Regions from separate parts of the Homo sapiens genome. Here region 1 is linked to region 2. Evidence: promoter capture Hi-C in 16 types of primary human blood cells and fetal thymus (Javierre and others, 2016). All regions are on one chromosome and are shown on one strand. The core of a region is centred on a gene start or on the middle of the fragment in contact, and the rest is flanking DNA. Distances in the headings are between cores, read along the strand shown. Region 1 has its middle 280 kb from the start of OTUD1. Region 2 holds the start of PTF1A (pancreas associated transcription factor 1a).

Region 1 (6,965 bases), core at 3,051-5,550, 520 kb before region 2:
TTCAGTCCTGGAGGCAAACACTTATTTCTAAAATAATTTATTGAGGTGGAAACCACGTAACATAAAATTACCCATTCTTAATTATACAATTCAGTGGCATTTAGTACATTCACAACTTTGTGTAACCACCATCTCTATCTAGTTGCAAAATATTTCCATCATACTAAATTCAAATCCCCTACCTATTAAGCAATTATTCCACCACCCTCCCCCCTTCTCCCCAGGCCCTGGCAACCACCAATCTTCATTTGGTCTCTAGTATTAAACTATTCTGAACATTTCATATAAATGTAATCATACACTATATAGCCTTTTTGTTTGTTTGAGGCGGAGTCTCACTCTCTTGCCAGGCTGGAGTGCAGTGGCGCGATCTCGGCTCACTGCAACCTCCACCTCCCAGGTTCAAGAGATCCTCCTCAGCCTCCTGAGTAGCTGGGACTACAGGCATGCACCACTACTCCCAGCTAATTTTTTGTATTTTTAGTGGAGATGGGGTTTCACCATGTTGGCCAGGACGGTCTCGATCTCTTAACATTGTGATCCGCCTGCCTTGGCCTCCCAAAGTGCTGGGATTACAGGTGTGATATATATAGATATAGCCTTTTATGTCCAGCTTTTTCTTCCTTTTTATTTATTTATTTATTTATTTATTTTTGAGAAGGGGGTCTCGCTTTGTCACCCAGGCTGGAGTGCAGTGGCATGATCCTGGCTCACTGCAGCCATGACCTCCTGGACTCAAACAATCCTCCCATCTCAGCCTCCTGAGTAGCTGGGACTATAGGTGTGTGCCACCACACCTAGCTAATTTTTGTATTTTTTGTAGAGATAGCGTGTCGCTATGTTGCCCAGGCTGGTCTTGAATGCCTGGCCTCAAGTGATCTGCTCTCCTTGGCCTCTCAAAGTGTTGGGATTACAGGCATGAGCCACGGCACCCGGACTAGGCCTAGACTTCTTTCAATTAAGACGTTTTGGGGCTTCATCATACTGTAGCATGTATCAGTGCTTCATTTCTATGGCTGAACAATACTCCATTGTTTGCATATACCACATTTGTTTATCCATTCATCCACTGATGGACATTTGGACTGTTTCCACTTTTTGGTCATTGTCAATAGAGCTGCTATGAACATGTAGTGTATACATGTTATTTGTCTGAATATCTGTTTTCAATTACTTGTGGTATATGCTTAGAAGGGGAATTGCAGGGTCATATGGTAATACCATGTTTAAGGATGCTTTCTGAGGAATTGTCAAACACAAACACAGGTTTATTGTGCACATTTTATCTAACTGAATGATATTTCTTGAAAAGAAGTCTTTGTCTTTAATTATGTTTGCATTTTTCACTTTCTCCTCTCTCTCTCTCTCTCTTCTCTCTCTCTCTCCCCCTCCCTCCCTCCCTCAATCCCTCTCTCCAAGTTGTATGGCCCCAAATACACTTCTGTAGATGTTCCAAAACCTTGTATTAGGTATTTCATCTAAATAAACCTTGAGATTGCTATAAGAAAATATTGTAAAGAATATGGTCCTTTTTAACAAAGAGAAATCCTATCACTTATGTTTTTTCACTAAACAGATCTCTGTAAAAGTTTTTTTTTTTTAGTTTTTCCTTGCTTTCCAGCTCTGCAAATTTATTCCGTATCACAATAGTCTTAATTTTATCCACCCACATCCTCTTCTCCCCGATAAAGGATTTATCAGCAACTAAAACATTATGCAATTTTAAAACTGTTTTAAGCTTGTGAGGAATAACAAAGCAAACAAAAAGATTTAAACATGGAAAAAAACAAACTTGGGACACATCTTTCATTATACAATATTTCCCTCTGACACAAAATTTGCTTAATAAACAAATGGCTCTTTGGAATATTTCTGCTATTCTATAAACTACATTTAAATATTTCCAAAAAGAAACAAGGAGAAATACAAGTGTTCTTGTAAGTACTGAGATATTTAATAGATGAAGGACCATTTCAGAAGCAGTCACTTATTTTAACTACTGTGGCCCCACTTTCTATTGATGACATGCAAGGTAAAAAGAGAGGAAATTCACATATTAGGTTGGTGCAAAGGTAACTGCAGTTTTGGCCATTGGTTTTGGAACTGGCAAAAACCGCAATAACTTTTGCACCAACTTAATAGATTCCACACCTACTGAATCATAAGCTAAGTAAGCTAAAATGGAAGCAAGGAGGACTTAGACGAACCAATAGAAAAGGCTGCTCATTTTTACACTAAAATATGATTCAAGAAAATTATGTAATTGCTATAAAAATGTATTTTGGAAAGATACATCTATTTTAAAGGGATGTGTGTATAATGTTTTATGATCATTGCTATGAGGACCTGAGTCTCATTGTTAGATGAACTGAACTTTTCCTGAACAAGTGGTTTGTTTTCTGATTTTAGAAAAAGTTAATGATGTCACTGATAGTTTTTTCATCTTCGTTTTGGCTCAGAGTTCAAGTCTGAGGCTCATGTTGCCAAGGGTAGAGGATTTCTAGCATACATTTTGCATACTAATTTCATCTTAGGTTTATTGTTTTTCTTATCCCTATTTCTACTGTCATTGAATATATCTTTATTGTCTAGACTTAAATTCTATTAGGAATAATAAGAACATTCAGAAATCAATCTCCTGAACCACCCCACCTGCTACTGGACTTTTGATTTTAGAACTCCAACCTTAGGGGATGTATTTTCAGCAATGTATGTATATTCCATGTTGGGGTGACTTTAGGGTGACCTATATTATTCTGGAGAGTATGGCCAAAACTCGCCTTGTGAGTTCTCCAGTGGCAAAACTCCTACCTCATAGTGTGATAGTGATGCATAAATTAGACAATCCAGGTAGAGTTTAGCATGCTGCCTGGACTATAGTACGTGCTCAGTAATTATTAGCTCTTATTAGCAATTGCATTTTAATAAGTCCCGCTATGAGCTTAATTCAGAGCAAAAAAAAAATCTAAAAGCGGAATTCAACCTATTTCATTTAAAAATACATAAGCACAGGGGACAACCAAGTAGTTCTTAATACCAGGAAGCATTTTAAGTTCACGGAAACCTAGAGATGACAAAAAGGTGAAGACGTAAAGATAGTAAAGCAGGTAACTCTTTCAAAAAGACAGGCTGGGAAGAGAAGGGGCAAAGTAAGGCAGGGGTTTAATCTTGAAGGAGAATGTAGTTTTTGTGTGGTTAGTTGTTTAACATGGATTTCTGTGCATTTTCTTAAAATAAGTGAAATATAAATATAGACTATGACAGGCATGGGAGAGTGACAAGTATAAATAAGCCTTGTATATAAGAAGTTTAAAACATGAGAAAAATGAATAATTAGGATCCAAAAGAACAATAGATGATGACAAAGAAAAAACGTGATGTAGTAAATTGGGGTCTACTTTATAAAGCAATAATTCAAAATCTATTTGTCCAGAAAGAAATCTTTAATAAACAAAGCCACAAGAATGTTTTTTTGTTGTTACATGCATATAAATATATTTGAATATGCACAATAGAGGCTGATCTAAAAAGCTGCTCCTAGTAAGGTGGACCAGCTTTTCCATTGATTTATATCATAAAATCACACCCAGTCTTCTGTGTGTTCAGTCCAGGCTGGAGGTGGGGAAGGGAGGGAGCCTCCAGAGGGAGAAGTTGGTTGTAAATATGATACTTGGAAAGATCCAATCACTTTAATTTTATTCAAGGAAAGACAAAGCAGGTTCACACTGTAAATGCAGGTAGGTATGACTGTATATAGGAAATTTATGTCTTAATTAATAATTGGTGATTTAAAACTTTCACATATTGCATTTATTTAGCCTAAAGGATCCCCTAGAATACAGATACACACACAAACTATGCTGATGAGTTTACATATTTAAAATTACTACAAAATGTATGCATAAGAAACCAATGCAAAGGAAATTCAATGATCCAAATTAAGCCCTATATGTAAATCAGAGCTTGGTTTTAGATAGATTTAAATAAAGCTATTGTTCATTTATTTCATAAAGAGAAACTTTCCAGATGCCCTAAGCATAGTTTTGTTTCATATTGTGTGCACAACATCTATTATGTTCATATATTTTAATGACACATCCTCATCTCATGGAAGTATGTACGTAAATCTCTTGCATGCAGCGTTAGTCAGAACGCTTCCGTAAAAGCTTATTTAAGGAATAAAAGGAATAATATTGCCTTTCAAGACTGAAACATGCTATTTGTATCATTTGTGCCTCAATTTCTGCTTTCTCATCACTGTTAAGGCAAAAATTCGACCATTAACTTGCAAATTGGTGCAATGTGTTTCCCTTTAAAAGAAAACTATTTCTTTTTTAAAGATCATGGCTTTTAAAGGTCATTTTAGTGAACTGAGTAATGACATTTATCTTTTAAATAAAATGTTGTAAAAGTTAAAGTGTCATGTAAGCTTTGCTTTTCTTTCACGGGCAAGTTTAATTTTTAAAATATGGGTAATGTGATTACTTCCTTTAGAATCAGTTCTACCTAATATTTAAAAATATAATATTTGTAGATGAGAAAACAAATCTATCATTTTAACACTGAAATTCTCAAATTTACATGTTAGTCATCACTTCATGCTCATTTTAAATCTCTCTAGTACATATTTGAAACTTTACATGGTGAGTCATAAAAGAAATGTAAAATCTTATAGCTACATCAAAGAGACTCTAAAATTGATACAACTTTTACCATGAGGTCTCATCATACTCAATAGTAAAAAGGTAATAAGCCAAAATAAGTTTTACTTACATCACATATTCTAATGGAATCTCAAGCTCCTCAGAAACTATTTATGATCTAATACGCATAACTGGAATCACAGTCCTTTCATCAATTTTTTTCACTTCTTTACTTCCTTCATTGGCTTAACAAGTGTTGGGCTAAACACCAAAGGGATAAAAATGAAAAGATTTTGTCTCTTCCATCCCCCACTAGGGAAAGGTAATCATGCAAATAACAGTTGCAATGAAATAAAATAACCAAGTCAATACACAGAGCTATGGCAGCCCAGGAGAAGCTCACCATGGAGTAAGAGGAGGCTAAAGTAACTCCATCTTGAATGCTAATCCGCCATTTTGACTTCAGATTAACCCCAATCCCAGGAGTGCCTCTAATATTTCTGCCTTATTTACTGTTCCTTTTGTAAACCAGTACAATCTCGATGTTATCATCATAAACACATACTTACCATATATCCTGCCCTTTGGCAAATTATAGGCTATGATGCACATAGCGTTCTTGTCTTTCCATGAAGGGTCAACTTTAATTGTCCTGCACATTCCCTCTAGAGCTAAAGCACATATACCCTTTTTCTATGGTATATAAGCTCTGGGTCTTGGGGTAATGGTGAGGAGATCTACCTGTCTTATGACTGCCCAAGACCATGCTTCTGCCCATGAGTTCCCCAATAAACCACCCTCTATTGACAAACTGGATTTGTTTGCCCTACCCTTTGGTTTCTCAGCTCCTTTTGTATTTGGGGTTCCCTTCGCAAATATGGCCTTTTCACAAAACAGAATAGAAAAACGACCTCAAGACTTCTTGGAACAGTCACAAAGGGAGAGCAGGAAAAAAACTTTGTAGTCATCTTTAGTCCAGAGGTCAAGTGAGGAGGGAACCAAAGAAGAAGAATATTTCAGGCCAGTGGACCAGCAGGTGAAAAGGCAGGAATCTTGAGGCAGCATAGCGTATTCAGGAAAGTCCAAGTTGCAATTGATTGATTGAGGAAGGACTCTACCAAAGTCTTAGTGTCGCCCTGGCTGCAGGATATGATGGAAGCTACCCTCTGCAGAAATTTGCCCAAGTTCTCATCCTTGCTTGGCTTCTCTTCCTCCCCTGTTCTACTTTCCCTCACTTTCCAGGAGTCTATCCTGGGAGCAATTTCTTCATAAATTACTTGTGCACAAAAATTCCTCTTAGGGTTTGATTTCTGTGGAAGCTGCCCTAAGACAATGGTTAGTAAGCAAGTTATTGCAATAGTTCCAGCTGAAACATCATGAACGCTTCAGCAATATAATAACAAACAGGATAGCGGGGAAGGGGAAATATGTATTTAGAAGGTTGGTCTTAGCAACTGATTGGATATGGAGAAAAGGTAGAAGTCTAGGATATGTTCAGATCCTGAACTTGGACGACTAGCTGGCATCAATCCCTTTGCCAGGAAATATAGAAGGCAGAGAAGTTCTGGTGGAATGAAAAAAGACTAATAATTTCAGATTTGCACATATTAAAGGTGAGGTGCCTATGAAACAGCTGGATGGGGTACCTAAAATGAAAAGTGTATAAGCAAGTTTGAATTCAGAAGAAAGTTCTGAGCTAAGCAGATGTGAATTAGGTTTGAAGTCAAGGTTATAAATGAAATTGTCTAGAGGTGGAAATAGGTGATCATGAGGCATTATTTTGCTGGGGCATACAGTAATCTAAGTTGACTCTTTTTTAGGATGTCTTCAACTCCAGAATTACATCACATATTTTGGCAAAAATTAAAGTCAAACTTTATTACAGATACCAAAAAGTTTTATTGGGTGGTCTTATGTAAGGATAGCTAATAATGATATTAATATCACCATTCAAATCAACATAGGCTCCTAAGACACAAAGAAATTAAACCAAACCTTAGAAACTGACTATTTTAGAGCATAACTTCTATATTAACTGAAAATATGATGTGTAGAGTGGTCAACACAATTTAAATTATTATTCCAAAGAAGCTGTTAAACACCAAAAGGACCATGATAATATTTTCTAACATGCATTTTTAGAGAAGAACATTTTGGTCCATGATAGTCTGCCTAGGTAGAAACTGAACTAATCCATTGGAAGTAAAAAAACAAAATCTCTGATGATAAAACTGAAATGATTAGTAACTAGGAGCTGAAAGCAATAGCTCTTGATATTGGCCTTACGGTCTTAGAAATGGAGAAATAACTCAGTATGATAGT
Region 2 (6,607 bases), core at 2,919-5,418:
TGGTCCCAGGCTGGGTTTCAGTGCAGGGGATGATGGGTGTTCAGAAGGGCCGGGCTGGGCAAAGATTCTCCATAGCCATCCAGGAGTTTGGCTTACTCAATTATCTTCATATGCATCTTTTTTAAAAGTTGGACGAGAAGTGTGGACTTAGAAGGACCATTGAATACCTGTCACTCAAACTGCCCTCACATGATCCTTCCAGTGCCAGGCCGTGTTTGCCGGCCAGAGATGCCCAGGGCCAGAGGCTCCCCAGCCTGGCTCTGCCACAAGGAGAGCAGCCCCTGCACCCAGCGCAGCTCGGGCCTCCCTGACGCCAAAGAAGACTCTGAAATGATACGTTTGTTCTGCCTTTACTGCTGCATTTTTTTTAAAAAAAAGAATTGCTACACTAGAATGAATGGATTATGAGTAAATAAAAAGAAGCTGTCAGTCTCTTTGAAGGTTGTGCTTAAAGGGACTTGCCAAGTCAGGACAGAGAGTGACAAGATAGAGACCCTGGTGTTTTGCATGCTCAGCTCGGTTCTTCCGCTTCATCTGCACCGCACTAAAGGTTGTGTTGAGGCATTGAATCGCAAAAAAAAGTGGCACGCAAAATAAAAGGTGCCACATCACAATGATTGCAGTGTTTTAACTGCGAGTGCCACACTGCCCAATCCAACAGAAACGCAGGTCTACACAGCCGAAGAAAACGGTACAATACTTCCATAACTTATAATTAAGTTGAAGTCGGCCAAACATTTGACTTTCTAATGAGTGTAATGAGATTACATGCCTGATGGAAGCATTTGTGCAAAAGCAACTTTCGTGTTTAATGAGGCCCTAATAAAGGACAAAATCGAATTATTTTCTCTCGTTCTGAAATTCTGTCTCCAGTGTGAAATCTTCTTTTAGGAGGAGTGGAGGGAGAGGGCGCGAAGGCTTAAAAGGGGTGAGAGGGTCCACGGCCAAGGGGCTCCCGGGAGCCTTGCGACCCAGAATCTCCGCGTGTCTGGCCAGGCCGCGCTGCGGGGTCGGGCTCGCGGCCTCGCTTTAATTGCTCTTGGACGAGGTCCATGGCACCCGCGGCGCGCGGGGAACCCCTCGGTGGGTCTGAAACTAGGTTAAAGCAATTAGCATGCTGCCAACATATTGTCCTGCGGCAGGGCCGTGAGTATTAGAGGCTATCCGCAATTGTACCTTCGCCCACCAGGCCGCTGCGGCCCACGGAACCACACCCCGCCTGGGCCAGGCCTGCGCCGCACGGGGCTACGGTGCCACGTCAATGAGCGCGTCTCCAGTCCGCGCTCGCGCCAACGCCATCTGCGCGCGCGCCAGGCCTCAGGGCCCAGTGCCGGCGCCCCGGCTCTGGCGGGCAGGGGAGGACGCCCCGAGAGCCCGGGAGGCGCTCTTGGCCACAAAGGAGACAAACCCAAGCCTGGACTCCCAGGCTTTCTGGCTAAGCGACCTCGGCCGCGCCCTCGCTCTTCTCCCCTTCGCTAGGGGGCTACCCTACGCCCCCCGCCTCAGGCTCGCCTTCTCCCCAGGTTGCTGGCCGAGGAGGGCCAAGTTCTGATGAAGGCAAAACGAACTCAGTTTTGGAAGTAAGCCTGTTGCGAAGGTGGCAGGGGTAGCGGGCGGCTTCTTCCTACCTTACCTAAAAGACCCTGGATTTTGTTGAGTGGCCTCCGAGTGGTCTCTAGGCTTTGGCACCGTAGCCTGTCCCATCTCCTTTGTGAGGAGTAAGCCTGAGTTCCAGGTACCTGATGCTGTTGCTGCCGAAGAGGTTGGTCACAGGGCAGCTCAAGAGTAGCCCCTTTCCCAGCCAGTGGAAGCAGAAAGGCCCATTCGCTTAGCCCACTAGCTCCCTGCTCCCACAGTGCACCGCGCGCTCACTTTTATACACCAGGAATAGACAACGTAGGGGTGACCTTGGGTAAGTCAAATGTCATCTCTGAGCCTTAACTTTACCATCTGCAAAATGGGAACAATAAATACTCCAGGATGTATTTGCATAGGGTGTTTGGAAGGTGGCCCAAAATACAGACAAAAGTTGCTGTGTAGGGCAGGCGACCTAGATGAAGTGCTGTCATAGAAAGTTGAGGTCTAATCCTCTAACCTACCCACCTTTAGGCTAAGTCTGAAATGTAGTTTCTTACTAAAAAGCTACACTTTGAGTCTCTGGTTTGGTTAATTTTTACTAAGTTAATTCTTTTTAAAGAGTATCTATCAAATCATGTACTCAAAAACCTTCAGGAAAAGGTGTAAATAGCATTTATTGACAACGCTTAGAAATAAACCATATCTGGCAATAAATAAGCAGGACGTTTTCTGGCCAGAGTTCTCCCAACAACACAGAGTTCAGGAAAATCATAGGCTATTGCATATTTTCAGAAAATCAGGATAAGTTATATAAATTATATATTTAAAAAGAAATCATCTATTTCATCAACTCAACAGGATAATAAATAGATAAATAATAAACAGTTGATTGCCATTCGAAAAATTTGATTCTTAAATTACATTTACATTATAGATATTTACATGTACAATATGCACAGAGACATAATCAGATCTTCAGCCGAGTCTGGGACTTCTCAGGACACAAACTCAAATGGTGGTTCGTTTTCTATGTTGTTGAAGGAAGATTTGCTGTTGAGTTTTCTGGGGTCCTCTGGGGTCCAGACTTTGGCTGTTCGGATAATATTTTGTTCCTTGAGTTGTTTTTCATCAGTCCATGAGAGAGAGTGTCCTGCTAGGGGAGGGAGGCCATAATCAGGGTCGCTGGGGGAGGGGGACCCTGGACAGGTGAGAAGAGAAAACAGACTGTGAATATCCAACCACATTCCCATTGGTCCCATCAGGTCCTTTAGGACCCTTTCCTGGGTGCTCTCCGGTTATACTAGAACCACCCTCTTCCTCCACACTTCAAGTCCCCACCGTCCCCTCCCAGGAATCCGAGGAGCTGCAAGTCTGGCGGGGACGCGCGCCCTTGAGAGCCGCGGTCAACGTGGCAGAAAAATAAAAAAAAAAAAAAAAACGAGAAACGCGAGCTCGCATTCAAGTTTTTCCGTGCCCACCGACAATCCGTCGGTCCGACTGTCTGCTTGGCAGTCAGCTCCCCCAGCCCCTCCGGAGCCTTCGAGTGCCCGACCCCTTCTCCCTGAGCTGGGAAGCGGAAGCACTTACGGGTGCCCCGATGGCAGATGATGACCTTCTGGGCCTGGCTGCCCGGGCTGTCCCCGCCCAGGCGCCCGCCGCCGCCCGGCCCCCCGCAGCCGCCCGCGCCACCGCCGCGCAAGGGCAGGTCGGCCTGCACGAGCTCGCTGAGGAAGTTGATGTAGCCGATGGCCAGGCGCAGCGTGTCCACCTTGGAGAGGCGCTTCTCGTAGGGCAGCGTGGGGATGTGCGAGCGCAGCCCCTCGAAGGCGTCGTTGATGGACTGCATGCGCCGCCGCTCGCGCACGTTGGCCGCCTGCCGCAGCTGCTGCAGCTCCGCCTCGGAGCGCACCCGCCGCCGGCGCCGCGCCGCCGCAGCCGCCGCTCCGCTCAGGCCGCGCAGCCGCGCCCCGGGAGACAGTACTGCCGCCCCGGCGCACGGGTAGGCCAGGCACGAGGGCGGCGAGCCGGGCGAGTAGGGGAAGCCGCCTGGGGGCGCCCCCGTCTCGCAGCAGTAGCCGCCGCCGCCGCCGTCGTCTGGCTCACCGAGGCCCCCCGAGGACGGCGGGGCGAGCGCTAGCGGGGCGGCCGGGGGCGCGGGCTGCAGCAGCAGGCACGCCCCGTCGCGGTAGCAGTACTCGTGGAGCTGGTGGCTAAGGAACTCCACCTCGGCCTGCTCGTCCGCCAGCAGCTCATCGCCGTCCTCCAGGGGGTCCCGTGAAGACTGGTCGGTGAAGAAGTCGTCCTCGTCGAAGTACGAAGAAGGAAAGGCGTCTAGGCCCCCGGGGAAGTGCTCCAGCAACACCGCGTCCATGCTCGCCGCCGCAGTGGGCAGCGGGACTGCCGGGCTGCGCGTGTTAGTTCTTGGTGAGTTTCTAAGGCCCGTCCGAGCCCCTCCCTCCCGGGGCCCTGGCTGGGGGCAGCTAGGCGGCCGCCGGGCTGCCCGCCCCCGGGCCTCCCTGGAGTGCCCGCGGCCGCTGCGCTCTGGCCCGCGCTCGCGCTGCGCTGGGGAGGGCTGTGGCGGACTTCCTGGAGCTGAGGGCCGGCACGCGAGGATTCTTATAACAACATCCATAGGCGCGTGCCAGGGACCCATCGCGCCAGCCAATCAGAGCGCGGTGTGCCGGCGGCGAGGGGGCCCGGAGGCGCGGCGGTGGGCGGGGGTGGGGGGCGTTTTGCTCCCTTTGGGAGCTCCTGGGGCGAGGAAAAGGCGGGGTCGCGCGGCCCGGGGCTCCTCGCACCGCTCTCTTCCCTCTCCTCTGCCTCTGCATACTGGATTCTGTACCTGCCCCGCGTGCGGCTCCAGGGGCACCTGCGTCCCGCGGTGCCCGCTGCGTACCCGCGCGCGCTGAGCAGCGCCGGCTCCTTCCGCCCTGGGACTGGGGCAGCCGCGCGCCGCGTCTACACGCGGCCAGAGAAGTTCCTAGGGGTGCGCGCCGGTGGCCCAGACGGCGAGAGCGGAGCCCGCGCGGCGATCGTCCTCCTCCGCGGCAGCCTGGGCAATCTAAGGGTGCTGCCCTCAGGGACCAGGTGGGTGCATTCCGCCACCCCCTTATCCGAGGTGCGCGGGGCTCCGGCCTGGGTTCTGCTGGGGGCTTCTGTCCCATCTCTGGACTTTTCAAGGGCTTTTGCACAGTTTGCAGAGTATATGCGGGTGTCATTGGAAGGTGATCCGGGCCCACTCCCACTGCGTTCCAGACGCAACACGGGGGCTGGGAGCGCACCTATGGGACTCCGCTCTGGAGCCTGGCTGTGGTGCCTGGTGCGGGTCCCCAGCGACATCGGCTCAGTGGCTGCCTCCCCTGCCCTCCCCGGCCCGGAGAAAGGAATGGGGAGACGGGAGGGGCAGCCCCCAGAGCAGCTCAGCGGGGCGCGTTTCTTCTGAGAGCAAATCTAGACCCTAGGGATTCTGAGCAATAAACTGGATACAAAAGGAGTCCATTGAATCGTCTGCTCCGGCGCAGTCCGGAGGGAAGGCATTGAAGTTAAAGGGCAGAATGTGAATCGTTTTCAAAGCCCGAGTCTCTCACCTTTCCGACTGGCCACAGGGACCATCCCTGAATGACTTGTTTTTTTCTTTCTCGACCTTTCTTTTCTGAAAAAAAAAAAAAACACAAAACGTATGCAGCTCTGCCCCAAGACAGACTTTATCACAGACTGCGATGCAACGTGAATTCCTCTTTTTAAGAGCAACAAAGAAACACTTTCAAGGTCTGGGCAATTCCGGTTAAAAGCCAGGCTGCAGCTTCCACCCCGGGAGAGTTCAGAAGCGCAGCCATCGTGCGTATTCTCTCTACAGAGGACTGAAAGGAGTCGTCCTCCTGGGCCGCTTCCTTTTTCAGGCACTTGTCTCACTAGAGGCTTCTGTTGGGTATTCAGACGCCTCTCAAATTCCAAGTCATGCCTCTTCAGATTAGTGATTTAAATACGCTTCTTGGTTTTAGACATTGCACTGTAATTAACTGAATTGAGAACAAAGAGTTAAACCAAAAGATATATAAGGTTAGAAGGCCAGAGATTGCCTTACCTTGAACTGCCAACAACCCCAAACAATTTTAACCCAAGGACTGACTGGTTTTCAGTAGTTTTTTCCTGTGTTAGTTTCTCAGCCTTCACAGTGAAGGAGTCGTTCACTATTTGCATATCCTTAAAGGCAAATATGGACAGTTTCCCGGTGATAGAGCCTGAGCTGTGATTCTCTGCAATTAGATTTCTCTTTCTGACCTCAAAGGAAGGGAAGGGGTGTGTGTGTGTGTGTGTGTGTGTGTGTGTGTGTGTGTGTATCAAGGCCAGAGATCTAGCCAGCTAGTGATGTGCACCCTCCCCTTCCTCACGTAGACTAAAACTAAGTGGAAACATGCCCGTGCCCGTGGGTCAATGTGAAGACATGCAAGAGTAGCAAATTACCCAGCTTCAAAGCCTTATCGGAAATATTGACAACTATCCACTGCAGAGAAGACTAGAATTGAGCCTACAAAGTCTCTTTTCAAGAGGCTGAAAGGCTTTCTCTGGTGGCTCTCTAGACTGGTGGCTCTTGAGAAACTGTGTGTCATAGACATGTGGGTAGGTGGAGGACTGGGAGACAGGGGAGTGAGTGTGAATATATGGGTATCTTTTTTTTTCTTTTTTTGGGGGGAGGGTGGGGGTTGGGGGATAAAGTCTTGCTCTGTCGCCCAAGCTGTAGTGCAGTGGCACGATCTCAGCTCATGGCAACCTCCACCCCTCAGGTTCAAGCGATTCTCCTGCCTTGGCCTCCCGAGTAGCTGGGATTACAGGTGCCCGCCACTACGCCTGGCTAATTTTTGTATTTTTAGTAGAAACAGGGTTTCACCACGTTGGCCAGGCTGGTCTGGAACTCCTGACCTCGAGTGATCCACCCACCTTGGCCTCCCAAAGTGCTGGGATTACAGGAATGAGCCACCGTGCCCGGCTATATATGGGTATCTTTTTATTCAATATGATTTTAGCAATC

What was found. Contacts are between HindIII fragments. The CHiCAGO score rates a contact against its expected background, and 5 or more counts as called.
Region 1: a fragment that was not itself captured here is called in contact with the fragment with the promoter of PTF1A in region 2 in 1 of 17 cell types (M1 macrophages); the score reaches 7.4 in M1 macrophages.

What each region holds. Positions count from the first base shown.
Region 1 is chr10:23,713,272-23,720,236 of GRCh38, reverse strand. It overlaps a transcript of KIAA1217 not described here. Among named protein-coding and RNA genes, the nearest start is that of OTUD1, 280 kb to the right of the region's middle. The HindIII fragment of the contact is 263 bases long and covers 4,169-4,431 here.
Region 2 is chr10:23,189,873-23,196,479 of GRCh38, reverse strand. PTF1A (pancreas associated transcription factor 1a) reads right to left here and starts at 4,168. Exons shown (of 2, transcript NM_178161.3): 1 at 3,166-4,168; 2 at 2,235-2,776. The coding sequence starts at 3,949. The coding sequence ends at 2,574. RefSeq lists an enhancer at 524-1,279. The HindIII fragment of the contact is 14,718 bases long and covers 1-6,607 here.